Linked DNA regions of Homo sapiens: region 2 is linked to region 1. The links are contacts of gene promoters, found by promoter capture Hi-C in blood cells and fetal thymus (Javierre and others, 2016). All regions are on one chromosome and are shown on one strand. Each heading gives the region's core, a stretch centred on a gene start or on the middle of the fragment in contact. The rest is flanking DNA. Distances are from core to core; before and after follow the strand shown. Region 1 holds the start of RNASEH2A (ribonuclease H2 subunit A). Region 2 overlaps GET3 (guided entry of tail-anchored proteins factor 3, ATPase).

Region 1 (4,036 bases), core at 847-3,346:
CTCGACTGTGAATTTTCCTGATTTAATTTCCACTGTGATCGGAAAACTAAATGTCGAGATGTGCATTTCAAAAAGACTACCTTCTGTTGCTGCTTGGGGAACAGATTGGAGGGGATAGGAGGGTGAGGGACGAGAGACGACACTCAGCAGGTGTCCAGGGAGTGGGGGGTGTCCTGGGCTAGGACAGAGGTGACAGGTAGACAATGTAGGATTTGTTCTGGAGACTGAGCCTTTAGGATGAGGGAGAGATTAGATGGAGACGGGACTAGGGGCTACACTGTGGTCGTCAGTGTGGCACACATTTAGGGCAGAAACAGGAGCACGAAATCAACAGTAGCAATGAATATGCCCGAGGCACTCCAGACGTATCTGATGCTGAATCTGCACACTGCACATTTTTGCCCACATTTATTTTTTATTTTATTTTTATTTTTATTTTTCGCTCTGTCCCCCAGGCTGGAGTGCAATGGCGCGATCTCACCTCACTGCAACCTCCGCCTCCCGGGTTCGAGCAATTCTTCTGCCTCGGCCTCACCAATAGGTGGGATTACAGGCACCCGCCACCATGCTGGGCTAATTTTTTGTATTTTCAGTAGAGATGAGGTTTCACCATGTTGGCCAGGATGGTCTTCAACTCCTGACCTCAGGTGATCTGCCTGCCTCAGCCTCCTGAAACGCTGGGATTACAGCCGTGAGCCACTGCGCCTGGTCTCCCATTTTTAGTTTATTTTTTATTTTTTATTTTTTTGAGACAGGGTCTTGCTCTGTTGCCCGGGTTGGAGTGCAATGGCACAATCTTGGCTCACTGCAACTTCTGCCTCCTGGGTTCAAGCGATTCTCCTGTCTCAGCCTCCTGAGTAGCTAGGATTACAGGCGCCTGCCACCACGTCCAGCTAATTTTTGTATTTTTAGTAGAGACGGGGTTTCACCATGTTGGTCAGGCTGGTCTCGAACTCTTGACCTCCGGTGATCTACCCGCCGCGGCTTCCCAAAGTGCTGCGATTATAGGCGTGAGCCACTGCGCCCTGCCTCCATTTTTGAGTTGGGGGGCTTCCTTTGTCACCCAGGATGGAGTGCTGTGGCATGATCATGGCTCACTGCAGTCTCGAACTCCTGTTTTGTCCCCATTTTATCCTGAGATGACCAAATGGGGACAACTTACAGTTAACTCACCTGGGTGACGTTCACGCCCTGGTCCAATGCATACTGTATAAGCCCAGTGGCTGTATCATGTGACAGGGAGTTCAGGTTGTATTTGACCCTGTGGTGGGGAACAGAGCCCAGTTAATCTCATTCTAGGAACAAAGCTTGGTCAGCCCATGCTGGCTGCCCCTCCCGGGGACCCCTCACCGCCCAAGCATGCTGGTAGAGATGAGGTTTGGAGACAGCACATCCAGCGCCCAGCCGACAAAGTCCGTGTCCTCCATTTTCGCAAACAGCCTTTCCCGCTCGCTCTCCAATAGGGTCTTTGAGTCTGGGAGGAGGTTTGGAAGAGAAGGGGAACAGCTGGTTCTCCCAGTTCCTGCCCTCCCCTTTCAGTTCTCACCTGCCCCTGCACATACCCAGGAATCCCTTCCCCAGACGCACACCTCGGGCTCACCTGCCACTTTCAGCGCCTCCAGATCTGCCAGGCGAGGCAGGGGACAATAACAGATGGCGTAGACCATGGGGCCTGGGGAGAAGGGGTGTCAGTTTTCTGGCAGCCGGGGTCCAATCACTGAGCCCGTGAAAGTTGCCATTCATCCCTGTTCTATCATCACTGCTTCTTTAGGTGCCATCACCACGACCACATCCCCTCCCTTGGTGCAGTGCAATCCCGACTCCCGTTTCCCGCATCCTCCGTACCACGCCCCTCCCCTCCCTGGCCCTAGGGGCGCACCCAGCACGGGGCCCCTGCCCGCCTCATCGACGCCCAGGACGCAAGGCTCCTTGCGGCACACCGCGGGCACAGGCGAACTCAGGCGACAGCGGCCTGTATTGTCTCTCTCCAGCTCGCTGAGATCCATGCCGCCTCAGCCGCCACCACCAGCTGCAAGAACTAATACTGCAGGAGCGGGTCTCGGCGCGCGTTTTCCGCGGGCCTCGAAGCGGCGCCTGCTTCCGGCCAATCCGCGGGCAGAACACGCCCCTGGCGCTCCCGCCGCCGTGGACGCTTACGCAGCCGACGCCGACGTCGCTGCCGTGCGCCCTCCTGGGAATTGTAGTCCCGAAGGGCTATGGCCGAACACTCAGCTTGGGGAATTCGGTGGACGGGGTCACTTTGCAAGCTCTGCTTCACGGTCTCTGGGGCCCCGCCTGCGTGGCCCGGTGGGAAGAGGGGGAAATAAGAGGGAAACTGAGACGTAGCTTCGAAGACCCAGCCTAACGGGGAACTAGAGAGTCAAATATCACCCCACTCCCAGGACACGGGTCACCGCATCACTGGGTCCCCAACTGCCACTTGGATTCAGGCCCTGTACTTGCGGTCCCTGCTTCTGTACACATTCTAAGTCCCCTGGACCAGGTAGCCCCGCTTCCACTAAACCCAGGCTTTTGGATTTGGAGTCCCCAAACTCCCTCTCTTGGTTGCTCCCTTCGGCCCACCTCCACTCCGTGCAAGATCTGTGCTTCCTAACCTCTGTCTCATTCAGGCCAAGCCTTCCCCACCCCCGTTGGAGATCACAGACCTCGGTGGACTCCTGCTCAGGGTCTCTGCTCCCTATAGAAGCTCATTCCTCCCAACTTAGAATGAATGTCCCCACCCCCACCCCTCGACCCACTTTTTTTTTTTCTTTTTTTTTTTTTTGAGACAGAGTCTCGCTCTTGTCGCCCAGGCTGGAGTGCAATGGCGCCATCTCCGCTCACTGCAAGCTCCGCGTCCCGGGTTCACGCCATTCTCCTGCCTCAGTCTCCCGAATAGCTGGGACTACAGGCGCCCGCCACCACACCCGGCTAATTTTTTGTACTTTTTAGTAGAGATGGGGTTTCACCGTGTTAGCCAGGTTGGTCTCGATTTCCTGACCTTGTGATCCGCCCGCCTCGGCCTCCCAAAGTGTTGGGATTGCAGGCGTGAGCCACCGCACCCGGCCTTCTTTTTTTTTTAGACAGGGTCTCTCTCTGTTGTCCAGGCTGGAGTGCAGTGGCGCGATCTTGGCTCACTGCAACCTCCACCTCCTGGGCTGACGCGATCCTCCCACCTCAGTCTCCCAAGCAGCTGGACTACAGGTGCACACCACACCACCATGCCCGACTATTTTTGGTATTTTTTGTAGAGACGGGGTCTCATTATGTTGCCCAGGCTGGCTTCAAACTCCTGGGCTCAAGCGATCCGGTCGCCTCAGCCTCCCAAAGTGTTGGGATTACAAGCCTGAGCCAGCCACAGTGCCTGGCATCCACCACTTCTATTCCCTGGGCTCACTGGGGCTCATGTCCTCTGCCTGTGGGTTCCCGCCCCTTACCAGGCTCATGCCCCTTCCTCAGGGTCCTAGTTCATTGTCTCTTTATCTCCTTTTACTCCTCTTCGCCTCCCCCTCCACTTTTTTTTTTTTTTTTTTTTTTTTTTTTTTTTTGAGACAGGATGTTACTCTGTTGCCCAGGCTGGATAGCAGTGTAGCGATCTCGGCTTATTGTAACCTTTGCCTCCCAGGCTCAAGCGATCCTTCCTCCCCATCGTACCGAGTAGCTGGGACCACAGGCATGTGCCGCCACGCTCATCTAACTTAAATGTTTTTGTTTGTTTGTTTGTTTGGTTGGTTTTTTTTGAGACAGAGTCTCGCTCTGTCGCCCAGGCTGGAGTGCAGTGGCGCGATCTCGGCTCACTGCAGGCTCCGCCTCCCGGGTTCATGCCATTCTCCTGCCTCAGCCTCCCGAGTAGCTGGGACTACAGGCGCCCGCCACCGCGCCCAGCTAATTTTTTATATTTTTAGTAGAGACGGGGTTTCACCGTTTTAGCCAGGATGGTCTCGATCTCCTGACCTTGTGATCCGCCTGCCTTGGCCTCCCAAAGTGCTGGGATTGCGGGCGTGAGCCACCGCGCCCGGCCTAATTTTAAAAATTT
Region 2 (3,903 bases), core at 297-2,796, 66 kb after region 1:
AACCGAGATTGCGCCACTGCACTCCATCCTGGGCGACAGAATAAGACTCCGTCTCAAAACAAACAAAAAAAACCCCCCCAAAACAAAAATTAGCCGGATGTGGTGGCGGGCGCCTGTAATCACAGCTACTTGGGAGGCTGAGGCAGGAGAATCGCTTAAACTCAGGAGGTAGAGGTTGCAGTGAGCTGAGATCACACCACTGCACTCCAGCCTGGGTGACAGAGTGAAACTCAGTCTCAAAAAAAAAAAAAAAAAAGATACCATCTCATACATAGCTCATTGCAGCCTCAAACTCTTAGGCTCAAATGATCCTCCTGCCTCAACCTACCAACTTACTGGGACTATAGGCACACACCACCATGCCCAGCTAATTTTGTTTGTTTTTTGTAGAGAAAGGGTCTCCCTTTGTTGCCCAGGCTGGTCTTGAACTCCTGACCTCACGTGATCCTCTTGTCTCAGTCTCTGCAAGCACTGAAATGATAGGTATGGCTTTCTAGCTCTTTAGTATCACTGCACTTGAGGGCCGAACACTCCTGAAGAGTATTCCCATCTTGCTCCTCACCCTTTTGGAGACGGAGTCTCGCTCTGTCATCCAGGTTGGAGTACAGTGGCACAATCTCGACTCACTGTGACCTCCGCCTCCCAGGTTCAAGCAATTCTTTGCCTCAGCCTCCCGAGTATCTGGGATTACAGGCGCCCACCACCAGGCCCAACTAATTTTTTTTTTTTGAGATGGAGTGTCGCTCTGTATCCCAGGCTGGAGTGCAGTGGCATGATCTCGGCTCACTGCAACCTCCGTCTCCCAGGTTCAAGCAATTCTCCTGCCTCAGCCTCCCGTGTAACTGGGACTACAGGTGCCGGCCACCACGCAAGGCTAATTTTTGTATTTTTAGTAGAGACGGGGTTTCACCATATTGGTCAGGCTGGTCTCGAACTCCCGACCTCAGGTGATCTGCCCGCCTCAGCCTCCCAAAGTGCTGGGATTACAGGCGTGAGCCACCGTGCCTGGCTTATTTTTGTATTTTTTTTTTTGAGATGGAGTCTTGCTCTGTCACCCACGCTGGAGTGCAGTGGCGCGATCTAGGCTCACTGTAAGCTCCACCTCCCGCGTTCACGCCATTCTCCTGCCTCAGCCTCCCGAATAACTGGGATTAAAGGCACCCGCCATCACGCCCGGCTAACTTTTTGTATTTTTAGTAGAGATGGGGTTTCACCCTGTTAGCCAGGCTGGTCTCAATCTCCTGACTTTGTGATCCGCCCACCTCGGCCTCCCAGAGTGCTGGGATTACAGGCGTGAGCCACCATGCCCAGCTAATTTTTGTATTTTTAGTAGAGATGGAGTTCCACCATCTTGGCTAGGCTGGTCTTTAACTCCTGACCTTCTGATCCACCTGCCTCAGCCTCCCGAAGTGCTGGGATTACAGGCATGAGCCACCACGCCCGCCCTTGCTCCCCTCTTCTGAACACAAATCTCCAATGGGCACTTGATGATCCAGACAATTCTGGTTCCCCCTGCTACCTTAATAAGTGTTTATGTGGTATTTTCTCCCTCCTCAAACTTCTATCCCATTCACTGCTGAGACCCTTGCCTGTTCCTTGGTGAGAAAGAGAAGCCATTGGCTGCCAACACCCTCATCTCTGCCCGGGAAGTGCCCCAATTCCTCCTGTTTCCCTCCCAGTCCCTGACCCTGGCAGCGCCCAAGTTCTGGGTCTGTATGCTGGATGGAGCTCATCCCACCTGAGGACTGTCCTCTGCCAGCATCCTCACTCTGCAGCATCTCTTTATTTTATTTTATTTTTATTTATTATTTTTTGTTGAGTCTCGCTCCGTTGTTCAGGCTGTAAAGCAGTGGCGCGATCTCGGCTCACTGCAAGGTCCACTTCCCGCGTTCACGCCATTCTCCTGCCTCAGCCTCCGGAGTAGCTGGGACTACAGGTGCCCGCCACCATACCTGGCTAATTTTTTTGTATTTTTAGTAGAGATGAGGTTTCACCGTGTTAGCCAAGATGGTCTCAGTCTCTTGACCTTGTGATCTGCCCGCCTCAGCCTCCCAAAGTGCTGAGATTACAGATGTGAGCCACCGTGCCCGGCCTTTATTATTTTTTTGAGACAGAGTGTTGCTCTGTCGCCCAGGCTGGAGTGCAGTGGCGCGATCTCAGCTCACTGCAAGCTCCGCCTCCGGGGTTCACGCCACTCTCCTGCCTCAGCCTCCTGAGCAGCTGGGACTAAAGGCGCCTGCCACCATGCCCAGCTATTTTTTGTATTTTTAGTAGAGATGGGCTTTCACCGTGTTAGCCAGGAGGGTCTTGATCTCCTGACCTTGTGATCCACCCGCCTCGGTCTCCCACAGTGCTGGGATGACAGGAGTGAGCCACTGCGCCCAGCCAATTTTTTTTTTTTTTGAGACGTGAGAAAACCTCGTCTCTACTAAAAATACAAAAATTAGCCGGGCATGGTGGTAGGCACCTGTAATCCCAGCAACTCCGGAGGCTGAGGCAGGAGAATCTCTGCTTCCTGGGTTCTAGCGATTCTCCTACCTTAGCCTTCTGAGTAGCTGGTATTACAGGCACCTGCCACCATGCCCAGCTAATTGGTTTATATTTTTAGTAGTGATGGGGTTTCACCATGTTGGCCAGGCTGGTCTCAAACTCTTGACCTCAAGTGATCCGCCCACCTTGGCTTCTCAAAGTGCTAGGATTACAGGAATGAGCCACCATGCCCAGCCCTCACACAGCTTTAAATGCCACCCTTGAGACAGTGACTTCCAAATCAATGCCAACCTCCTCTGGGCTCCAGACTCACATAAACAAGCTACTGTCATGATGTTTACACTTGGATTTCCAGTGGGCAACTCAGATTCACTGTGGACAAAATGAAATTCTTTATTTGTTCATTCTAAACCTACTCCTTTCCTAGTTTTCCCCATCCCAGCTGCTCAGAGAGACAAGAAAGACATGTAATCAATTCATTTCTTTTTCTCACCCAAGTAATCTTACTGGTTTACTTCCAAAATACATCCCTGGTGCGATGTGGTGGCTCATGCCTGTAATCCCAGCACTGTGGGAGGCCGAGGCAGTCAGATCACTTGAGGTCAGGAGTTTGAGACCAGCCTGGCCAATATGGTGAAAACCTGTCTCCTAAAAAAAACAAAATTAACAGGCAGTGGTGGCGCAAGCCTGTAGTGCCAGCTACTCGGGAGGCTGAGGCAGGAGCATTGCTTGAACCTGGGAGGCGGAGGTTGCAGTCAGCCTAGATCGGGTTACTGCACTCCAGCCTGGGAGACAGAGGAGTCTTGAGTGTCTAAAAAAAAAAAAAACCTCAAGTCTGACTACTTCTCCCCCAACATTCTGCCTCCACCAGAGTCCAGGATGTTGTCATCTCTCAACTGGTTACACCCCCAATCTCCTTGTTAGTTTCCCTGCTTCTACCCTGACTGACAATTAAATCTCCACCTGGCCGTCAAAGGGTACTTTTCAAACATGAATTTGGCCACGACATTGCCCTGCTTAAAACAAACAGCTTCCCGTTAATAACCTGGAGTCAATGCCAAACTTCTTAGTGGCCCATAAGGTCCCACACCATGTGGCTCTGATTGGTCTCTCCAACTTCTCCTTCCCCTACCCTGGCTCACTAAGCTTCAGGCACTCTGGTGTGCTTCCTGCTCTGCAATTCCTCATTGGTTCCCTTGTGAGTATGTTGAGGAAGGAGTGAAACACGAGAGACACAGGATATAGAGTGGATAGGACACGGTGGCTGCTGGTGTGTGCGCACAAGAAAGGCTGGAAGAGGCTTTTCCCAGAAGTGGGGGCTAAGCCCTGTTCCACTCACCATAGCAAAGAGGTTGTCATAGCCTTTGACCTTGGTAGGCACCTTTGAGAACTTCTGGTCAAAAGCATCTGAGA

The links. The method cuts DNA at HindIII sites, captures the fragments that hold promoters and counts their contacts. A CHiCAGO score of 5 or more calls a contact.
Region 2: a fragment that was not itself captured here is called in contact with the fragment with the promoter of RNASEH2A in region 1 in 8 of 17 cell types (naive CD4 T cells, total CD8 T cells, monocytes and 5 more); the score reaches 7.3 in naive CD4 T cells.

The regions. Positions count from the first base shown.
Region 1 is chr19:12,804,644-12,808,679 of GRCh38, reverse strand. RNASEH2A (ribonuclease H2 subunit A) reads right to left here and starts at 2,096. Exons shown (of 8, transcript NM_006397.3): 1 at 1,880-2,096; 2 at 1,601-1,672; 3 at 1,351-1,474; 4 at 1,174-1,261. The coding sequence starts at 2,006. RefSeq lists enhancers at 1,993-2,042, 2,243-2,372 and a cis regulatory region at 1,817-2,849. The HindIII fragment of the contact is 3,433 bases long and covers 1,310-4,036 here.
Region 2 is chr19:12,738,585-12,742,487 of GRCh38, reverse strand. It overlaps GET3 (guided entry of tail-anchored proteins factor 3, ATPase), which reads right to left. Exons shown (of 7, transcript NM_004317.4): 2 at 3,830-3,903. Among named protein-coding and RNA genes, the nearest start is that of GET3, 3.0 kb to the right of the region's middle. The HindIII fragment of the contact is 4,185 bases long and covers 1-3,638 here.